Regions from separate parts of the Homo sapiens genome. Here regions 2, 3 and 4 are each linked to region 1. The links are contacts of gene promoters, found by promoter capture Hi-C in blood cells and fetal thymus (Javierre and others, 2016). All regions are on one chromosome and are shown on one strand. The core of a region is centred on a gene start or on the middle of the fragment in contact, and the rest is flanking DNA. Distances in the headings are between cores, read along the strand shown. Region 1 holds the start of ALCAM (activated leukocyte cell adhesion molecule). Region 2 has its middle 89 kb from the start of RDUR. Region 3 has its middle 210 kb from the start of ZPLD1. Region 4 has its middle 190 kb from the start of ZPLD1.

What was found. The method cuts DNA at HindIII sites, captures the fragments that hold promoters and counts their contacts. A CHiCAGO score of 5 or more calls a contact.
Region 2: a fragment that was not itself captured here is called in contact with the fragment with the promoter of ALCAM in region 1 in 1 of 17 cell types (monocytes); the score reaches 8.3 in monocytes.
Region 3: a contact is called between a fragment that was not itself captured here and the fragment with the promoter of ALCAM in region 1, in 2 of 17 cell types (total B cells and naive B cells). The highest score is 6.7, in total B cells.
Region 4: a fragment that was not itself captured here is called in contact with the fragment with the promoter of ALCAM in region 1 in 1 of 17 cell types (naive B cells); the score reaches 5.3 in naive B cells.

The regions. Positions count from the first base shown.
Region 1 is chr3:105,364,396-105,369,517 of GRCh38, reverse strand. ALCAM (activated leukocyte cell adhesion molecule) reads right to left here and starts at 2,609. Exons shown (of 16, transcript NM_001627.4): 1 at 2,037-2,609. The coding sequence starts at 2,109. RefSeq lists enhancers at 1-87, 88-588, 925-1,084 and silencers at 2,115-2,234, 2,565-2,664. The HindIII fragment of the contact is 2,798 bases long and covers 1,501-4,298 here.
Region 2 is chr3:102,027,682-102,032,803 of GRCh38, reverse strand. No RefSeq gene overlaps it. Among named protein-coding and RNA genes, the nearest start is that of RDUR, 89 kb to the right of the region's middle. The HindIII fragment of the contact is 523 bases long and covers 2,154-2,676 here.
Region 3 is chr3:102,221,448-102,226,569 of GRCh38, reverse strand. No RefSeq gene overlaps it. Among named protein-coding and RNA genes, the nearest start is that of ZPLD1, 210 kb to the left of the region's middle. The HindIII fragment of the contact is 3,795 bases long and covers 311-4,105 here.
Region 4 is chr3:102,240,767-102,245,888 of GRCh38, reverse strand. No RefSeq gene overlaps it. Among named protein-coding and RNA genes, the nearest start is that of ZPLD1, 190 kb to the left of the region's middle. The HindIII fragment of the contact is 2,409 bases long and covers 1,074-3,482 here.

The sequences.
Region 1 (5,122 bases), core at 1,360-3,859:
ACTGATACTGCAATGAGAATTTCGGCAATGCCAGCTCGGTAATTCACCGAAACCACGGATCTGAGGGTCCAGGGCCGATATCGGATCCTCAGATTCACGGTGGCTGGTTGCGGTGAGCCGGGGCTAGCCGCTCGCCGAAAGCGCGCAGCTCGGTGCCCCCTGGACACACGAGCCTGTGGCGCCAAAAGAACCACCGTGAAGGAGGTCTGAAAGCGGAACTTTCCCCCTTTTAGCAGTTAAATGTGTAGAAAAACCTATCCTGCGACGTGGCCCGCCTGTGACGGCACCGAAAAGGAAACTGGTTATGTGCCTGTGTCAGGGGTGTGGACGAGGGTGAGATTACATTCTCCAAGTCTCGAGGGGGTTAATCGGAAAACCAACTGTGGGCGTGTGGACGTTTGCATGTTACAAACCGACATCACCCTTGTCCTCCCTTCTTGGCTCATTCCCTGGCTCCAAAGTGTCCTTTCCTCCATCGGACAGTGGAATCTCGAAAAAGTGAAATCCACACTGTGCCAGGCCCAAGGGGGTCTCGCCTTTCCACCTACCTCCCCAGCGTTGTTACACTAGGACACCTGCTTTAAATCCGGTTGAACTATGGTTTCACAGTCCCCGCCCCAGAGCCCGAGATTTGTCAGAGAACGCAGACGCCTTTTTTTTCCCTCAGCCTCAGAAACATCAGGTGAGCTCATTACCTCACCCAGAAATGTAACTTTAATAAAGAGATCTGGAGAGGGCACTCCTCCCGCCCACACACACAGCAACGGCAGCAGCAGCAGCAGCTCGCAAACACTTGTAATCTCTTCCTCAGGCTCTGGCCCCCAAACCCCTCTCCCCGCCAGTTCCTGGGAGAGATTCAGAGGCTTTCAAACCTCTTCTGTGACCTGAGCTTGCCGACAGCTGAAGGGATGTGCACGGATAAAAGGAAGTGAGATTTTTCTTTGATAAAAGCTAAAGAAAAAGCTAAGAACAAACAGGCCAAAATACCAGGAAGTAGGAGTTTAACTGGCAACTGTCTACGCAGGGATAGAAAAAAAAAACTTCAAAGAAAAAAAAATCCCCTAAATTTTCAGTTTAGGGGAGCAAAGGAACCTGCTGCTCTGTCAGGCAACTGTGAGCGCACGGAATACCCTGTTAGAACAACTTGTGTCAGCCGCCAGGCGGGCCTGAGGATACCAGGGCCAGGGGACGTCCCCGAGGGTGTGGAAAGGGATTTCCCGAGAGATATTTTAGTTGTTGGGAATTTTGCCTTTTCTCTCTCTCTCTCTCTCTCTCTCTCTCTCTCTCTCTCTCTTCCAAGACTCAGTACAGAACTGAGAACTGAGGCTCTATGAGCAGGTCCTGGAAATTCACAAACCTCTCACTGAGGTGTCTCCCAGGCCTACCTACTAATTCCTGTTCTGGCTGTGTTATCTGCCTGCGGTCACCCTTTCACTCACCACCCGCCCAGACAATGGACGGGGACCGCAGGGGGTAACGTTGAAACCACGATTTTAAGCTTTAGCAGGTTTCGCAAGGGGGGCGGGGGGAGGTGATTAAAGTCCTCTCCTTCTCTACCCCTCCCATCCCTTCCTCGGCTCACCAAGGGGAAGTTACTAGGGGATTTATCACGAAAAAGTGCCGGCAGTTATTTCATCCGAGAACTAAGCGAAAGAAAAACTGCTCGGGGCGCAGTGACGTGGACTTGGATACCCAGAGACAGGAGGAACTGTCAGAGGGCAAGAGTCCGCCGCCTAGCTGGGAGCCGCAGGGACAAGGGGAGAGCGTCAGGCGAATCCTGCCCACCCCGGAGCACCAAGTTCCTGGAGATTCACCCAGTTTCCCCAGCTTGATGCCCAAACTTGAGCTAACCAGCCAAGCCCAAACGTGCGGCACAGGTGACCGAGCCCGGGGACAGCTCTGTGCCAGGACAGCGGTCCCCTTACCTCCACCACGCGCCTGGGCGCACTGCCTCGGGGGTGCGAGGCTGGGACGGGGACCTAGGAAACTGCTCCAGGCCCACGTCTGTCTGGGGCTGCTCCCAGGCCCTTGCTCACCTGGCCTGAAGACGGTGGCGGAGATCAAGAGGCAGAAGAGCAGACGGCAGGAACTGGCCCCCTTGGATTCCATATTCCTCCTCCTTCTTGGTGGGCCACTGACGGAGTCCACGCCGCAGGAGGGGGCGTCGTCCCGGGCCCCGCGGTGCCCGCGCGCTGGCGGGTCCCGACGCAGGGGCAGCGTCTTCTCCCAGACACACCGTCCCCTGGGCTGTGGCGCTGCACCTTCGGTTCTCTGCCGCACGCAACTTTCCACCACGCAATGCCCCCAACTCCTCCTCCCTCCCGGTCAACACCAGCCCACGGGCCCTTCGGCTGCTCCTCCGGGGACAACGACCCTCTGTTTCCAGGAGACACTTGAGTAATTCGGAAAGGTGTAAGCGGTTCTTTTCGCTGGTATCTTCTTTTATTTTCCTTGTATTGGAATGATAATAATAATGGCAGTGGCAATGTGCATGAAACGCCAGGTGCTAAGAAGGACTCGCAGGAGGCGGCGACGGGGGGGCGGCGGGTCTCCTCAGGTGGCAGCGGTGGTAGCAGCGGCAGCGGCGGCAGCGGTCTCCGGGCTGCTCTGAGTAGAGGGACTGGAAGGCGTGTGTAAGCTGCCTCTTTCCTCCTCTCCCCGCCTCCTCCCTCCCTCCCGTCTCCTCCCCACTTCCCCGGACGCAGCGCAAAGCAGGTGGTTGAAGCGCGGATCCGCAGCCTAGAGGCGCTGCAGGACTGAGTCCGAGCCCTGAGCCCAGCTCCGGGATCAGGGAGAACCGCGTGCCCCGGTCCTGGAGCCCGGATGAGCGGTGCTTCACCGCGGCTCCGCCCCCAGGGCCAGGTCCGCCAATAAGAAGCAAGCACAGGAGCCGCGCGCGCCAGGGAGAGCCCTGGGACTAACACTTTCTGTGATGTTGCAGCGCCCCAGTGATAAGGCCTCTGGCTTCCAACTGCCCACCCACCCTCGCTGAGGTTTAAAAATCGACTGCCCTCTCCCTCCACCCATACGCCCATCCCACTGACTCATTCCTCAGAGATTTTTCTCCGCCGTGCTGCTGCAGCCTTCTGTCCTGTAAAGAGAATAGTGGGGCAGGGCGGTGGCGGTGGGGAGCGAACCTTGGGTCCAAGAGCGGGAGTGAAGGGAAAAGGAAAGGAAAGGGCAGGAGGAAGTGGCAAAGGTGGAAACTTGCTTCTTGGGAGTTAACAGGAATAGCTACTTGTTGGCAGGGGCAACCCCTGTACTGGACTGATTCCTCCTGTACTTTTCGAATCTCTCTCCTCCCCCTGCTCACCCCCACCACTCCCCTCACACCCGGCTGGCATAGACTTGGTTTTAAAGGAAGACTACGTGAGTCGACTGCCCGGTACCAACAGAAGATATTTGCTTTTCCCGGGGGAAATTAAATCCGGAATTTCTAAACCGTACTTCGTCATACGGATTTTCCCAATGTCTACAAAAGCCCTCTAGAGAGCGTGTCACTTTTTTACTTTGAGTTAAGCGGTGATTTTAAGTTATAGACAGAAAATCCTCAAATTATTTCAGATTAAAAGCCAAGTCCGTCTTGGTCCGTTCCCGAAAGCCAGGCACTCCAGCAGATGGACAGGCTTCTTAGGCAATTTCTAAAGATTGAACCACCTCCCAGGAGGAACATCGGGAAGCTGTGTTGCTTTCAAATCAGGCAGAGAGCATGAAGGAAGATTTTCCTCTAGAACACCGGGGTGGAGCTGTCGGAGCCCTAAGTGGCTCTAAATCAGGGATGCAGGATCACAACTCTCATCACCAAAGAATAATAAAATCTTGGTCCCTGAAGCACTTCGCTGGGGCATTAAATAGCCTTTCGTGCATCACAGGGTCACCCTTTTGTGAGACTGGTCTCCAGCAGAGGATGCCAACTAGTAATCGTTACATACTGCACTTTCATCAGAAAACTGCGAGTTACCAGCGAGATTGGAGACTCGCAACACACAGACACACACACACACACACACACTCACACACTGATTTTTAAAATTGTTTATCTTTTAGTGCTCTAAACTATTAAGCCCTATCTTCAGCTGTGATTTTTCTCAAAAGCCTGCTTGTCCTGTTCTTCCAGTTCTCCTTACATTAACAATATTCTAGAGTAGAGCTTTTATACCATATTTTTTTCCTCTCAAAATAAGTAGTTTCTCCCACTTGGTTTAAACATTAACATTTCATTTGCATCTTATGAATCAACAGGAAGGCTATCGCTAGGAGGCAAATGCCTTTTAACTCTATATTCCTTGAGCTAAGCTTGGCTGAAATGCTAGCATTTCCATGGACTCCTGTAGAATTGCTTTAGGGAATTGTTTTCTTTTTCACTGTGGTTGTAAGTGGGGTGTATTAGAATAAATCGACCTGACAATATATTTAACCTAGGTCCGCGAACGCTCTATCTGATCTCCTCTATTTTACGATGGGAGTTAATACAGCATAATTGCTTAAAGGTAGATTTGCAAAAGGAAGACTGATTTGGGCTCTGACACTAACTGTATGATCTTGGTCAACTCACTTAACCTCTTTAAGCTTCAGTCTCCTTTCTTGTAAAAAGTGATAATAGTGCTAGCCTCATGGGATTGCTGTGAAGATCAAATGAGATCAAACACACAAACACACACGTGGAATTCTGGGAGCAACTGACTATACAAATATGTACATATTATACTTATACACAAACACATGCATATATATATGGGCATATGTATAATATATATTTGAATGTGTAGTCCACTGCTTCCAGAATTGTTTTTAGAAAGGAATGTGTCCTAGTTTAGGAAAATGCCTTGATAAGCCACTTGGACTAGTAACTCCAAAGGCTATTGGTCATTAAAAAAAAATGGTGAAACGGCTCTATATTAAACAAAATAATAACCATGAAAATAGAAATTTGGCCTGGGAGTGGGGACGAAGGCAACAATACAAAGCATGAGTTTAGAAATGTTCAAAGGTCTTTAGATCTATTAATTAGCAACACTTACATGTTAGAATATTCTAAGCAATTTATATGAATTAATAGATGTATTCCCCTCATAAAAATTTATTGAAGGAGTTGCTATTTTCATCCTCATTTTACTCATGA
Region 2 (5,122 bases), core at 1,166-3,665, 3.3 Mb after region 1:
TTTCTCAATCCCTCTGACATATTTCACCCCATTGATTGCTGCTTCCCAAAATTCTTCCCAGGACCAGCTTCACAGATGTGCAATCTATGCAATAACCCAGGGCCCCAGGCTTAGAAAAACTTTGTGTTTGGTTTAAGCCTCTCCTGTTTCCATTTTGAAATTCCTAATAAATTTTTAACAAGCCCCACAATGTTATTTTGCTCGAGGCCCTGCACATTATATAGTTTGTCCTAACTCTGCCCTCAGCCTCTGACACCACAATGTCTTTTTCCTACCTAACCTCTCCTTTTCTATTTCATCATTCCACTCACTAAACTCAGAAGTTCATTAGAGTGGTTACCATCACCCACCTTACCTCTATCTCCTTTGCCATCTCACTCATGGCTTCAGTTCTCACTTCATTAAATACTGCCCATATCTATTACCTGAATCTTGAGCTTCAGATCCGCATTTCCACCCATAACCTGGATATTTCCACAAAGATGTTCAGTAAGCACTTCACATTTAACATGTTCGAAATGGAATTTAGCATCTGCTTATGTATTCTTCCATGTCCTCCTTCTTTCTCTCAACTTTATATTTTGGAGATTTATTCATGTTGATGCATGTAGCTGTAATTCATGTATTTTTGCTGCTCTGTAGTATTTCCTTATATGAATATACTTCAATCGACTTATCCATGTATGGGTTTTTGTAATTTTTTATGTCTGAGTACACACATGCAAGAAGAGTTTCCAGTGAAATTGCTATATCAAAGAGCACACACAAGTTCAGTTTTACCAGGCATACCAAACTGTTTTCAAAGTGACTGTGTCAGTTCATACTCCCACTTGCAGTATATTAAAGTTGTTTTTACTCCATATCCTCACCAACACTTGAGTAAAATCTTTGTCAACTTCGTCATGTCTCATTATGATTTTGATCCACATTCCCTTGATTATTAAGGAGAATGAGCATCTTTCATATGTTAATTATATATAAAAAGTGTCTTCTTCATGTAGTGCCTTTATAATGAGAAAACATTTTTTTAATTAAGATCTATACCACAGATTAAGATCTATGTTGTGATGGGCAAGTTTTTCAGTCAATCCTGAAGAACACTAAAGATTTACAGTCCTACCCTCACTGAGATGGTAAACTTGACCAGTTACAAACAATTATACTTTGGGATTTTATTGATTAAGTAATATGCTCTCAAAGTGATAATGTTGTGTGATAAAACTAGCTGTGGAGGAGAAACCAAGTGTGGCTGTTAAACCTTTCTATGGCCTATCATGCAACCAGCATGGAGTTACTTAGTGCCATGTGAGAGACAAATTTCAGAGTAGGCACAATGTGGAAGAAATAATTTTCATTCCACACAGCAGTACCCAACTCCTACCCCCAGCAAGAACGAAAACTAGAGAAGAAGATACAAATATCTATTGGCTGATGAAGAGTCTACTCCACTCAGGAAAGAACATGTGGAAACCATGAGAAATGAAAGTACCCCGCCAAACCCAGCCAAATCCAACCTCACCTCTCCTAGACACTTCCCCCTACAGTTTCTGGAGTTTCCCAGGTATGTTCTTTGCATAAGTCACTGTTTCATGTCTATCATTACCTAAATATTTTACATCAGGGAAGAATAAGTGTCTTGAGGCAAGGAATCTCCAAAATTGTTTTGAGGTTAATTAACTGCATAGCACATGTGGCCATGAATTTCAGGTTCCTGGATTAGAAAGACAGAGATGACTATTAATTCTGTTCAATCTGACCGATATTTGCTAAGCAGCTACTGTGTCCAAGAAGAATATGATAGAACCCTTGCCACTCAGTAAGCAAACTTTATATACCAAGAACAAGAAAGAATTTCACAGCTCCTACCCTAAAATAGAAAGAGTATTATCAAGCCACACTCTTATTGCAACATATTTTTGTGCAATATATTTAATAAAATTCTAAATTTGATATCTGTTCCTCATTTTTTTCCCATATCTACTGTGAGGAAATTCGACTTGACATTTCTTTCAAAAGACTATTGGTAATTCACAATTACTGCTCTAGCACTTCCCCCTCTGAACTAAAAAATAATAACAGCTGGACTTTATTTAATGCTTACTCTGTGTCAGGAATTTTAGCAAGTGTTATATGCATAATAGCTCATTTAAGCTTCATAACAACCTTTGTTGTAAAGGTATGTATGCTTTGTCATTGTTTTTGTTTTAGGTATAATTCACATAAAATAAATTCACATATTTTAAGTATACAATTTGATAAGTTTTGATGATGTATATTCCTATAAAACCATCACACAATCAAGACAATGAGCATATCCATCACCCCCAAAATGTTTCCTCATGATCTTCTGTAATCCTTCCCTTCCACTCTTTCCTGTTCTCTCACCCTTCCCCATTTCTAAGCAAATACTGATCTGTCACTGCAGTTTACATTTTCCAGAATTTTTAAAAGTGGAATTATACTGTACTCTTTTCTCCAGCTTCTTTAAACAGTGTAATAATTCTGAGTAATCCACGTTGTTGTGTCTATCAATAATTCATTCTTTTTATTGCTTGGTAATATCCCATTGTATGAATATATCATGATTTCTTTAACCACTCACCTGTGACATTTGGCTAGTTTCCAGGTTTTGGCAGTTACACCAATGAAGCTGCTGCAAACATTCACATATAAGCTTTGAATAGGCATATGCTTTCATTTTTCTAACCTAAATATCTGGGAGTAGAGGCACTAGGATACTTGTAGATGTATATTGAACAGTTTAAGAATCTGCCAGTCCTAATATTGCTGTGACAAATTGCCACAAACTGAGCAGCTTTAAACAACACCAATTTGTCTCTTACAGCTCTAGAGGTCAAAAGTCTAAAATCAAGATGTCACCCAGGCTATGTTCTTTCTGGAGGCTTCAGGGGCAAATTCTTTTGCTTTCCTTAACTTCCAACCTGCCTGCATTCCTTAGATCATGGCCCATTCCTCAGGACATTCTAACCTCATACTTCTGTGTTCACATCTCCAGCTACTGGCTCTGATTCTCCTATCTCCCTCTTCTAAGGACCCTTGTGATTGCATTGATGTCACCTGAGTAATTCACGATAATCTCTTTAATTTTCAAAATTTTTCATGTAATCACATCTGCAAATTTCCTTTTACCACATAACAGATTCACAGACTCCAGGGATTAGGATATAAGCCTCTTTGAGGGCCACTATTCAGCTTAGCCCACACTGTCTTCCATAGAGGTTACATCATTTTACATACCCATCAGCAGCATAAGAGAGTTATAGTTCCTCCATATCCTCACCAACATTTGTTATGGTCAGTTACTTTAATTTGCATTTCTCAATAACAAATGATGTTGAACATCTTTTCATATACTTATTTGCTCTCTATAGATCTTCTTAGGTGAAGTGTCATTTGAAATCTTCTTTCCAATTTTCATTGGGTGTTTTTTGATTGTTGGATTTTTAGAGATCTTTAACTATTCTTGATACAAGTCTGTTATCAGCTATGACTTGCAAATATTTTCTGCCAGGCTGTGGCTTGTTTATTTGTTCTCTTACCAGTGTCTTTCAAGAAAGGCTTATAATTTTGATTGTCTGATATATAAATGTATTTTTATAGATTGAGCTTTGAGTGCCATATCTTAAAAATCTCTGCCTAATCTAGGTTTAAAAAGATTTTCTCTATGTTTTTCTAAAAGTTTTATAATTTCAGTTCTTTCATTTAGATCTATAGCCCATTTTGAATCAAGTTTTACATATAGTGTAAGATATAAATCAAAGCTCTTGTTTTGCTTATGAATATCCAACTGTTCCACCACCATTTGTTGAGAAGTCCATCCTTTCTCCACTGAATTGCTTTGGCATCTTTTAAAAAAAAAAATCAGTTATCTCTAAATATGTCTAATTTTGGACTCTTTATTATATTCATCCATTTGTCCATTTGTCCATTCATTTGTCCATACCAATATCACACTGTCTTAGTTAATGTCATTTATAATGTCTATATGTAATTTATAAAGCTGTCTTGGTTATTTTAGATCTTTTGCATTTTCTATTTGAATTTTAAAATTAGCTGGCAATTCACATATAAAAGCCTGTGAGAATTTTTATTGGGATTGCATTAAATCTTTAGATCAATTTGGGGAGAAATGACCTTATAGCAACATTGATTCTTCTGACATATGAACATTGTATATCTCTCCATTGTTGAGTTTTTCCCAGTAATATTTTTTAGATTTCAGTAAACAGATCTTGCTCACCTTTTATCAAATACAGCGGTATTTTCATACTTTTGAAGCTATTTTAAATGATTTTTTTCAATTTCTCATGTTCATTGTTAGTATGTACAAATACAACTGATGTTTGCATACTAATGTATCCTGCCATCTGGCTAACTCAGTTCTTATAGCTTTTTGTAGATTCCATTGGATTCTCTGCATGGAAGATTATATTGTCTATGAATAAAGATGGTTTCCTTTCTTCCTTTCCAAACTGAATGTTTTTAATTTCTTTGCTTAGTGCTTTAAATTTTTTATAATTTCTGATTTATCAGCATCCCACCGATTTCATATGTTGTAATTTCATTTTCATTCAGTTCATAGTACTTTCTTATTTCCCTTTTGAGCTCTCTTTTTTTACATTTTTTCCTACTGACTCATCAAGCTTGATCCCTTTTGATCGTTTCTTTGACCCAATGGGCAATTTAGAAGTGTCTTATTTAGTTTCCAAATATTTGAGGATTTGCCAGAAAATCATTCTGTTATTGATTTCTAATTTAATTTCATTGTAGCCAGAGAACAGACTTTGTAAAACTTTAATTCTTTTTAAATTTATTGAGATACGTTTTGTGGCCCAGAATATGATCTTTGTAAATATTCTATATACACTTGAAAGTAAATATCTATGCTGCTTTTTCGGGTGAAGTTCTGTATAAATACTTCTTAATATGAATTAAGTCATTTGATTGTTTTGTCCAAGTTTCTTATATTTTTACTGATTTTCTGTCTCTTTGTTCTATCAATTGTGGAGAGAATGATCCTGAAATATCTGATTATAACTGTGGATATGTCTATTTGTTCTTGCAGTTCTATCGGTTTTTGATTCCAGTATTTTGATGCTCT
Region 3 (5,122 bases), core at 959-3,458, 3.1 Mb after region 1:
TTCATACCTTGTCCCAATTTGAATATTCCTGAGATTTAGAACTGAATATTAGATTAGTTCACTGAATTGTTGGTCCGATTAAATCATTACAATCATCTCACTTACTAAGAGTGATAGTTATAAACCATTGACTCAAAAGAATCAAAGAAATTCACCATTTAAATGTAGCTAAATTAAAGTCAGTTATTTTGACTCAGATAATGCCATAAAACTTTGGAACTTTGGGCTAAAATATACAGATATTGAACCAAAAGTGTTTTGATGCTTTTCACCTATATTCAGACAGCCATTAATTTTATACACCTAAGCTTATTCTCATCAAGAATCTTACAGACTTGCATATTGACTTTTCTCTGCTAACACACTCATAACAATGTAGAAATCTAAAAACCTGGATTCTGGAGATAGAAGAAGAATGGTTACCATAGGCTGGGAAGGAGTGTAGGAAGGTATGGGGGAGATGGGGATGATTTAATGAGTATAAAAAATAGAAAGAATGAATAATACCTAGTATTTGATAGCATAACAGAGTGACTATAGTCATTAATAATTTAATTGTACATCTTAAAGTAACTAAAAGAGTATAACTAGATTGTTTGTGATACAAAGGATAAAATACTTGACTCATTTTACATGATGTCATTATTACTCATTGCATGCCTGTATCAAAACATCTTATGTATCCCATAAATGTATACACCTACCACAAAAATTACAATTAAATTTTTTTAGAAACTTGGATTCTGTCATCATTGACTTTTCTATCAATTAGCTATTCAATTTTTATCATCACCCATCAATATCTCCAGGCCTCAGTCTCCTCATCTGTAAAATAGGGGAGTGGGCAGAAGCCTGCCAAGCAGATCATCTCTAAGGTTCCTTCCAGCTGTAAGATGGGATGATAGCAGAATTCTCACAGCAAAATTCCTAAGTGGATTTCAAATGTGCTTGTTAATGCAAAGTGCCACTAGAGGTCAGATTAAGTTTGGTAATTCTATCTGATCAGACATGGAGCTGGAGCAAAAGCAAAAGCTATCCTTAGGTTGATACCTTGCTTAGCAGGCCTGCACCTTCCCCCTTCTGAGCTGATGAATGTTGATCCCAGTGTTAGAATAAAATAGGAAAATCTCTGAAACCCGAAATTACATTCATTAATCTGTAATTTGTAATTGGCTGCTACCAGAATGCTTATCTTTCTTTGCTTGCCTGAATGTCGTTAATTAAATGTGTCACCTGAAGCTCTGGTACTTCGTGTTTGCTCATGTTACTGTGTTAATCAATCAGTCGCACAAAATTGGAAGCTGCTGAGAGAGACTGAAAACGTTACCTGCAAACTCTTTGTGCATCTGGGTGTAACTGTATTAAGAACATGTGATTATGTGCGGGGCATCTGACTCACAATACATATTCAAAGCGAAGTATAAAGGAATTAATGAAAAACAGAAAGAAGGAGAGGGGGCACACATTGTCCTCAGGTACGTGCCTTGTCAAAGCTACTGATCAGGACCAGTGTTAGGCACAACTGTGAAACCTGTAGAATTAGATATTTGTAGCTGCCGTTTTCTGTGTAGTTTCCCACCTTCCTTCAGCTCCCCGGCTTTCTCAGCATCCATTTCAAACTCTGCTCTCAAGAGACATCCAAATAATTCAAATGCAGTAAGATATAAAAAACTAATGATGTGATTTTGCTCTCACTTGCATTTTGTCTGAGAACAATGCCTATTAAAGGGTGGAATTCTAGAAGCAGAATTGTAATCATCTGGAAAGCTACTAATGTGGGAACAGAACATTTGCAAAATCATCCCACAGAGCCGACACCATAGGCCAACGGCAAAGGTTAGCCTTGCCTCCCACTAATACACACAGTACGAATTGCTAGTTATTCCCTTTTTTAAAAAACAAGTATTTATTGAGCATTCATTGTACATGAGGTTCCCAAATGCATAGGGTTGCTTCATGAGGACCCAGTGATTTCTCCCTGCATGACATACTAGGAAGCAGTGGAAGCCTCGGCATTATTTCTGTGGCAAGGCCCTGGGGAACAGGGATCCTCCTCCCCTTCCACTATCTCCCCTATATAAAATTAAATGTTTGTGGTAGCGGGCAGGAGTGAGCAATTCTGAGAGCGGTACCAAAAGGATGGATGTTCTGGCCTGACCACCCAGCAGGTGGCCTCAGATTATCCAGATAGTTCTGTGGTATGAGAACAAGGCAATATCTCCTAGTGGCTGTCACTCAAGAAGACCAGATGCCAATCTCAAAACCTCAGGGACCTCTTAATTTCTAAGGTGCTGATGCACTAATATTTGGGTTCACAGACCTGACAATTCTGCCTCCAGCTTCTTCTATATGAGATCACCCATCATGGCTATAGCCTATGTCTATCTTAAAACAGCTGCCACAAATCCTCAATTCCCTTTGATAAGTATATTCTCAGTAAACAGAAATAACACTTTGTATTTACCTAGTACTTGGTACTTTACCGAGTGATACAGAAAATCCTTTCATCTACTCTGTAAAGTTAAATACTATCATCCTATACATTGGCTCATATTTCATACATTTTTAGAGTTGGTAGATCATCTGCTCCACCCTCACCTCCACACTTAACCATCTTGCATTGTCCGATGCAATGTCTGACACTTCCCAAGCAAACCCCTTCCTTTCACAGCACTCAACACCGCCTTTCACAAGCACAACTATTTTATAGATGATGAAACTGAAATCCAAATACATTAGGTGACTCTCCCTAAAGCAGAACATATACAAGTGGAGGATCACAGTCTCAGACTAGTTAAGCAGTTTTCAATTTTCATCGCATTAAACCTCTCATCAGCATTCAACACCTTACTGCTTTCTTGAGCCATGTCTCTGAGTTTCAGTAGCACTACACCCTCATTTTTCCATGATCCCTTCTTCTCATTCTCCTCAGGAACATTAGGTTGGTCAGGCTTAGTCCTGAGCAACTCTTCTTTTCTTACTCTGTGGTCTCTCTTTCATTTGTCTCCTTTATTCTCCAAGTTTTAAATATTATCTATGGAAAACGGCTGAATAGGAACAGCTCTGGTCTGCAGATACCAGCGGGACCAACGCAGAAACTGGGTGATTTCTGCATTTCCAACTGAGGCACCCGGTTTATCTCATTGGGACTGGTTAGACAGTGGGTACAGCACACGGAGGTTGAGCAAAAGCAGGGTGGGGCGTTGCCCCACCCAGGAAGTGCAAGGGGCCCGGGGCCTCCCTCCCCAGCCAAGGGAAGCTGTGAGGGACTGTGCTAACCGGCCCAGATACTACACTTTTCCCACGGTTTTTGCAACCAACAGACCAGGAGATTCCCTCGGGTGACTACACCACCAGGGCCCTGGGTTTCAAGCACAAAAGTGGGCAGCTGTTCAGGCAGACACCAAGCTAGCTGCAGGAGTCTTTTTTTTGTACCCCAGTGTTGCCTGGAACTCCAGCGAGACAGAACCGTTCACCCCTTTGGAAAGGGGGCTGAAGCCAGGGAGCAAAGTGGTCTTGCTCGGTAGGTCCCACTCCCATGGAGCCCAGCAAGCTAAGAATCACTGGCTTGAAATTCTCACTGCCAGCACAGCAGTGTGAAGTTGACCTGGGGTGATCCAGCTTGGTCAGGGGCGAGGCATTCACCATTACTGAGGCTTGAGTAGGTGGTTTTCCCCTCACAGTGTTAAGGAAGCCAGGAAGTTCGGACTGGGGGGAGCTCACCTCAGCACAACAAAGTGGCTTGGGCCAGACTGCCTCTCTAGATGCCTCCTCACTGGGCAGAGCATCGCTGAAAGAAAGGCAGCAGCCCCAGTCAGGGGCTTATAGACAAAACTCCCATCTCCCTGGGACAGAGCACCTGGGGGAAGGGTGGCTGTGGGCGCAGCTTCAGCAGACTTAAATGTTCCTACTTGCCATCTCTGAAGACAGCAGCAGATCTCCCAGCACAGCCCTCAAGCTCTGCTAAGGGATAGACTGCCTCCTCAAGTGGGTTACTGACCCCTATGCTTCCTGACTGGGAGACACCTTCCAGCAGGAGTGGACAGACACCTCATACAGGAGAGCTCTGGCTGGCATCAGGCAGGTCCTCCTCTGTGATGAAGCTTCCAGAGGAAGGAGCAGGCAGCAATCTTTGCAGTTTTGCAGCCTCTGCTGGTGATACCCAGGCAAACAGAGTCTGGAGTGGACCTCCAGCAAACTCCAGCAGACCTGCAAAAGAGGGGCCTGATTGTTAAAGGAAAAACTAACAAAGAGAAAGCAATAACATTGACATCAACAAAAAAGATGCCCACACAAAAACCTCATCAAAAGGTCATCAGCATCAAAGATTAAAGGTAGATAAATCCACAAAGATGACGAAAAAACAGAACAAAAATGCTGAAGATTCCAAAAATCAGAATGCCTCTTCTCCTCCAAATGATAACAACTCTTCTCCAGCAAGGGCACAAAGCTGGATGGAGAATTAGTTTGACAAATTGACAGAAGTAGGCTTCAGTAGGTGGGTAATAGCAAACTCCTCTGAGCTAAAAGAGCATGTTCTAACCCAAAGCAAGGAAGCGAAGAACCTTGATAAAAGGTTACGGAAACTGCTAACTAGAATCACAAGTTTAGAGAGGAATATAAACGACCTGATGGAGCTGAAAAACACAGCACAAGAACTTGTGAAGCACACACAAGTAGCAGTAGCCGAATCAATCAAATGGAAGAAAGGATATCAGAGATTGAAGATCAACTTACTGCAATAAGGCATGAAGACAAGATTAGAGAAGAAAGAATAAAATGGAATGAAAAAACTCTCCAAGAAATAGGGGACTATGTGAAAAGACCAAACCTATGATTGATTGGTATACCTGAAAGTGACGGGAAGAATGGAACCAAGTTGGAAAACACTCTTCAGGATATTATCCAAAAGAACTTCCCCAACCTAGAAAGACAGGCCAACATTCAAATTCAGGAAATACAGACAACATTACTAAGATACTCCTTGAGAAGAGCAACTCCAAGACACATAATCATCAGATTCTCCAAGCTGAAATGAAGGAAAAAATGTTAATGGTAGCTAGAGAGAAAGGTCAGTTTACCTACAAACGGAAGCCCATCAGACTAACAGCAGATCTCTCTC
Region 4 (5,122 bases), core at 1,029-3,528, 3.1 Mb after region 1:
CTTTTTTCCTAATTTGATTTTGAATTAATGACTAGTATGCCTATGAAAGAAGGAAGTTCAAAATACAAATAACGTATTCTTGTTGGCTGTAGCTTTTAAGTGGACAGTACTTAATATAAGAATATTATTTTTATAGTCACTCAAATACTACTTTTTACATAAACAGGCACAAAAATATTAGCAAATTATTATATACATATTCTGGTTGAAAAGCAGAAAAATGTCAATGGCAATAAGTGAAACAACCTATTGAAAATACTTCCACTAGAAGAAGTAAAATAGTCATTGATCAGACAGTTAACTGAAAATACATAAAACATGGTCAACAGATAGAGAAGAAAAAAAAATCTTGCTCGGTCAGGAATGGATGCAATAGGTCTCCTTTCCTTAATAGATCTCTTTTAAGGTCAGGGGTACAAGTGTAGGTTTGTTACACAGGTGGAATTGTGTCATGGGAGTTTGTTGTACAGATTGTTTCATCACCCCCAGGTATTAAGCCTAGTACCCATTAGTTATTTACAACACACACTGGGGCCTTTTGGAGGGTGGAAGTTCGGAGGAGGGAGAGGAACAGGAAAAAAAGATCTTTTCTCTTATGAGACTTCAAGATTCTTTCTCCTTTCCTTGTACCTTGAGAAAAAAAAATGAGCTTTTGTTATCAGTGGCTCTGTAATGTAATTGCTGGTCATTAAAATAATTTGACTCAAAACTAACACCAGGCAATCAGCCTTGAGGTTTTGTGTGTTTAGTGAGGAGCAGGACTTAGAGGCCTATGCAGGGATGGGAGACGAGGGTACTCCAGAAATCTGGTACTCCAGAAACAAGGAGAGCCTCACATAATCTCAACACTTTTCTAATTATCATTTAGAAAGCAGCAATCCAATTGCCCCACAACTGCTGAGGAGAAAAAAGAATAAGCAGCTCTCCCTGCCTTATTCCCTACTAGAAACCAATCTACACTCCTGCAAAAGTAAGCTTCCTAAACCTGTCCAAAGCTGTTCACTTTGGACAGACTACGTCTGCTCAAAAGTCACCTGTGGTTCCCTGTTGCCAGCATAATAAAATTCTAAGCTTTGATGTAAATATCTGCTCTGACTTAATTCTACTCCGTAAATATTTGTCACATTTCCTCTTTTGTATATTAGCCACTCCTTGAGCAACCTCCATGCCTTTGCTTGATGCATTCCACCTGCCTAAGATGGTGCCTTGTTGTCTGCTACATGTCCTTCATGACCCAGCTCAAGTCATCACTTCTCCACAAAGTCTTCCCAATTGTCCACTTCATAGTCATCTCAATTGTCCATTTCATAGCCATCTCACTTCTCTCTAGGTATTTATCTTTGCCATGCACTGGCCACTCAGCATATTCCATCCTGTTATACCCTTTATATCCTGAGATTATAACTACAGTATACCTTTATTGAATGCAAGGACTATATATCTGACAATATTTCTCTTGCATTCATCATAATGCCTGATATGGAGTAACAATAGCACTGTATATATCACTAAATATATATATCATTATATATCACTATATATATCACTATATATATATATATATATAGAGAGAGAGAGAGAGAGAGAGAAACACTTTGGAATATACAAAGCACTTGCGACTTCCAAGGTAGCCATACTCCCAGCAACATAAACACTGGACCCCACCATCCCAGCCTTGCCCCAGGAGGCTCCCACACCTATTCTCACTATTAACTCTTTGCTTTCAGCTTATAGATGAGGACACTGAGACTCAGAAGATTCAGTTTCCCTGTAGTAAGTCAAAACCTGATTCTTCTACTTAACCACACTGCCGCTATTATGAGCATTCAAAATATTTTTGTGGACGTATGCCATGACTATCAGCACCACCACCAACTCCAGGAAGTTAGTAGAAGAGCAAAGATGTGTATGTGTGTGTGTATTGTGTTGTGGCAATGACCGAGTGTGGTAGATAAACAGTGTAGCAGTAGCAAATATACAAAATCAAGAAAAACAAACAAACAAATAATAGTTGTGATATTTAAGAGCTTCCAAGTTTTAAGCCTGTCACTAATTAGCTGTATGCTCTTGGGCAAGTCATCTGCAACAGATTTCTACCTGGTGCCCCAACTCAGGCAAAGATGATATAACCTCAATCCCCTTGTCCTTGGTCCCACCCAAAACAAAAGAATTTACAGGCCTGTACCACACCTCAGACCATAACCAATACCTAACCAAGGAATATAAGGATGATGATTATTTAAAATGCCAGTAGACATTAATTGAAGTTGAAGCTAAAGCACCAAGGAATATTACCTCCTTTAGGATTATTTAGAAAAACAGATAATTATGGGTCTGAGATGCTTAAGATATATGTGGTTCTGTTTAAGGTAGGAGTGTGAACTTAGTGCACTGTTACTATCTTCCATAAATCCCTATTGTAGAGTTTATAGGTGAAAACAATATGAAACTCTAATCTTGGAAACTGGATTAGTAAGAATTAGCTGTGTAACCATGTGGGAAAATTCACTTAATCTTTCCACACTCAATAACTCTACCTGTGAAATGAGGAAAGTGGTTAGGTCAAAGAATTTTTGAAATCATTTACATGTGTTAAAATCTTCACCTAAATATTATTGATAAATTTAAAATAGATCCTTCAAATACATTTTTTTAAAGCTGAGTTTTGACTGATCTTTATAGATAATTTTTTAAGTAGTGTAGGAATGTTAAGCAGTATATTCAAAAGCCTGCATGTAATTATAATAACTGCTAAGCATAATTAATCTTATTCATTCCATGCCCAGCTATTTACCTAAATCTTTACTGTAACTTTTAGCTAGGTGGGATCTCTCTGTGACTCTGTGACTCTATTTGAAAGAAAACAGAATCCCAACAAGGCTTCCAGAAGACTTCTTTTAGAGCTCTGCTGTGAGGATTAATGAAGCAAAGTCTCCTGCTATGAACTTCAATTCCAAGAGAATCAATGGCCCCAGGAAGGGTTGGAAGGAATTCCAGCAGAAGTCAGAATAATACATTCTCTTCCCATCTTTTTCACTAACCATTGAATCAAGAGTAATGAGTTTCGGCTTGCTCGTCGTCATTAGTTCCAGCTGTAAAATGGAGGTAAACATACAGTCAAGAACTCTTTCCCCCATAAGCCTGAGCAGGGCAGCTCCTACTGCCATCTATTCCGTAATTCCCAAATTGCTGGCATTTGTTTTCTATTGCCGAATCCAAATTACCACAATCTCAGTAGCTTAAAACAAAACATTTATTATCTCACAGTTTCCTTAGGTCAAGGCATGGCTTAACTGGGTCCCCTGCTCAGGGTTTTACAAAGCTGCTGGGCTGCATTTTCATCTGGAAGCTCAAATGAGTAAAAATCTGCACCCAAATTCATTGAAGTTGTTGATAGAAATTGCTTCCTTGTAGCTATAATACGTAGGGCCCTGGCTTTTTGCTGGCTATTGATTGGAGGTCACCTCCAGGTCCCGGAAGCTTCCCATTATTCCTAAAGGCTCCCTGCAGTGTTGGCTTCTCCAACATGACTGCTTACTTCATCAGGCCCACAAGGAGTCTCCAGTTCCAGAACTCATATAATCTATAGCAGTCACAGAAATGACATCCATCACCTTTGCTATGTAAATACCTAAGCATGAAAGTGCCATCTCATTGTCTCATGTTATTGCCTAGAAGCAACTAATAGTTCCTGCCCAAAGCCAAAGGGAGAGTATTACACACAGCTGTGAACACTAGGAAGTGGATTGATTGTGTGTCACCTGAGGGTCAGCCTGCCAAGCTGCCCTTAACACCAAAATCAACCATCAGGCCCTATGGCTGAAACACTCCACTCTTACCAAGAAATTTCTCCCTCAGCATCCTCCAATTCCTCTTCAATCACCATTGCTTTCAAAGTCATTCTGACTGCCTATAGCCAAGCCACACTCCCTACAGACCCTGTCCATTCATTCTGCAAAGCTTATTGATCTCTTGATATGAGCCAGGCCCTATGCTAGTATAGAATACAGAATAATGTCATCCCCCAACCACCATCACTAGAAAAACATAATGTCTAGTTCCTGATTTCCAGAATCTGTGAATATTATCAAATAAATCGCAAAGGGGAATTTAGGTTGCAGATGAAATTAAGATTGCAAATCAGCTGGTCTGGAGATAGAGAGATTATCCTGATTTATTCAGGTAGGTTCAATACAATCACAAGCGTTCTTATGAATGAAAGAAGGGAGCAGAAGAGACAGTGTCAGAATGAAACGATGTGAGAAGGATTCAGTTGGTCATTGCTGGCTTTGAAGATGGAATGATACAACAAGCCAAGGAATGTGGGCAAGCTCTAAAAGCCGGGAAAAGACAAGAATTTGAATTCTTCCCTAGAGCTTCCAAAGTGGAGTTCAGCCCTGCCAATACCCTGATATAAGCCCAGTTATCACTATTTATAATTTCTGACCTCCAGAAGTATTAAGCCATTAATGGCCTGATGGTTGATTTTGGTGTTGGGGGCAGCTTGGCAGACCGATCCTAAGGTGACACCCAGTGAATCCACTTCCATGTGTTCAAGAGTGTGGAAATTTGTCACAGTACTCGTAAAAAATGAATACTCCTAGGATCTAGGGACACGAAGATAAGAGAGACAAGGACATGGTACTTGCCTCGGAAGCTAATAGGCTAATGGGGTAGAAGACAGACAGATAACTTCAGGGAAGGGGATAGGGCTGCTGTTCACCATGAACCAGGATCAACTTTTCAGCATTACATATACCCAGCTCCTTCTGAGGTCATTGACTGACCTGCTTATGGCTGTGGAGTAAGAGCTCTCCCTTCTTCTATAAAACAAAGATGACATGTTCTGCCTTATATATTAATGAAAAAAACAAGGCTTGGCACACCCAGTTCAACACTCAACTACAGAGCATTTTACTAAGTGCCAGGAGCATGAGATACAAAGATGAATAAAGCTGATCCTTGCCTTCAGAGGTTTTAAATCCTTAGGGAAAACACACATGCATTCATAAATTTTATTTAGTGGTAAGTCCTATAAAAGAACTATGTACATAGGCCTTTGGGAATACAGAGAAGAAGTAATTAATTATGCTGAGAAAGATGAACGAGAGTAATATAATGT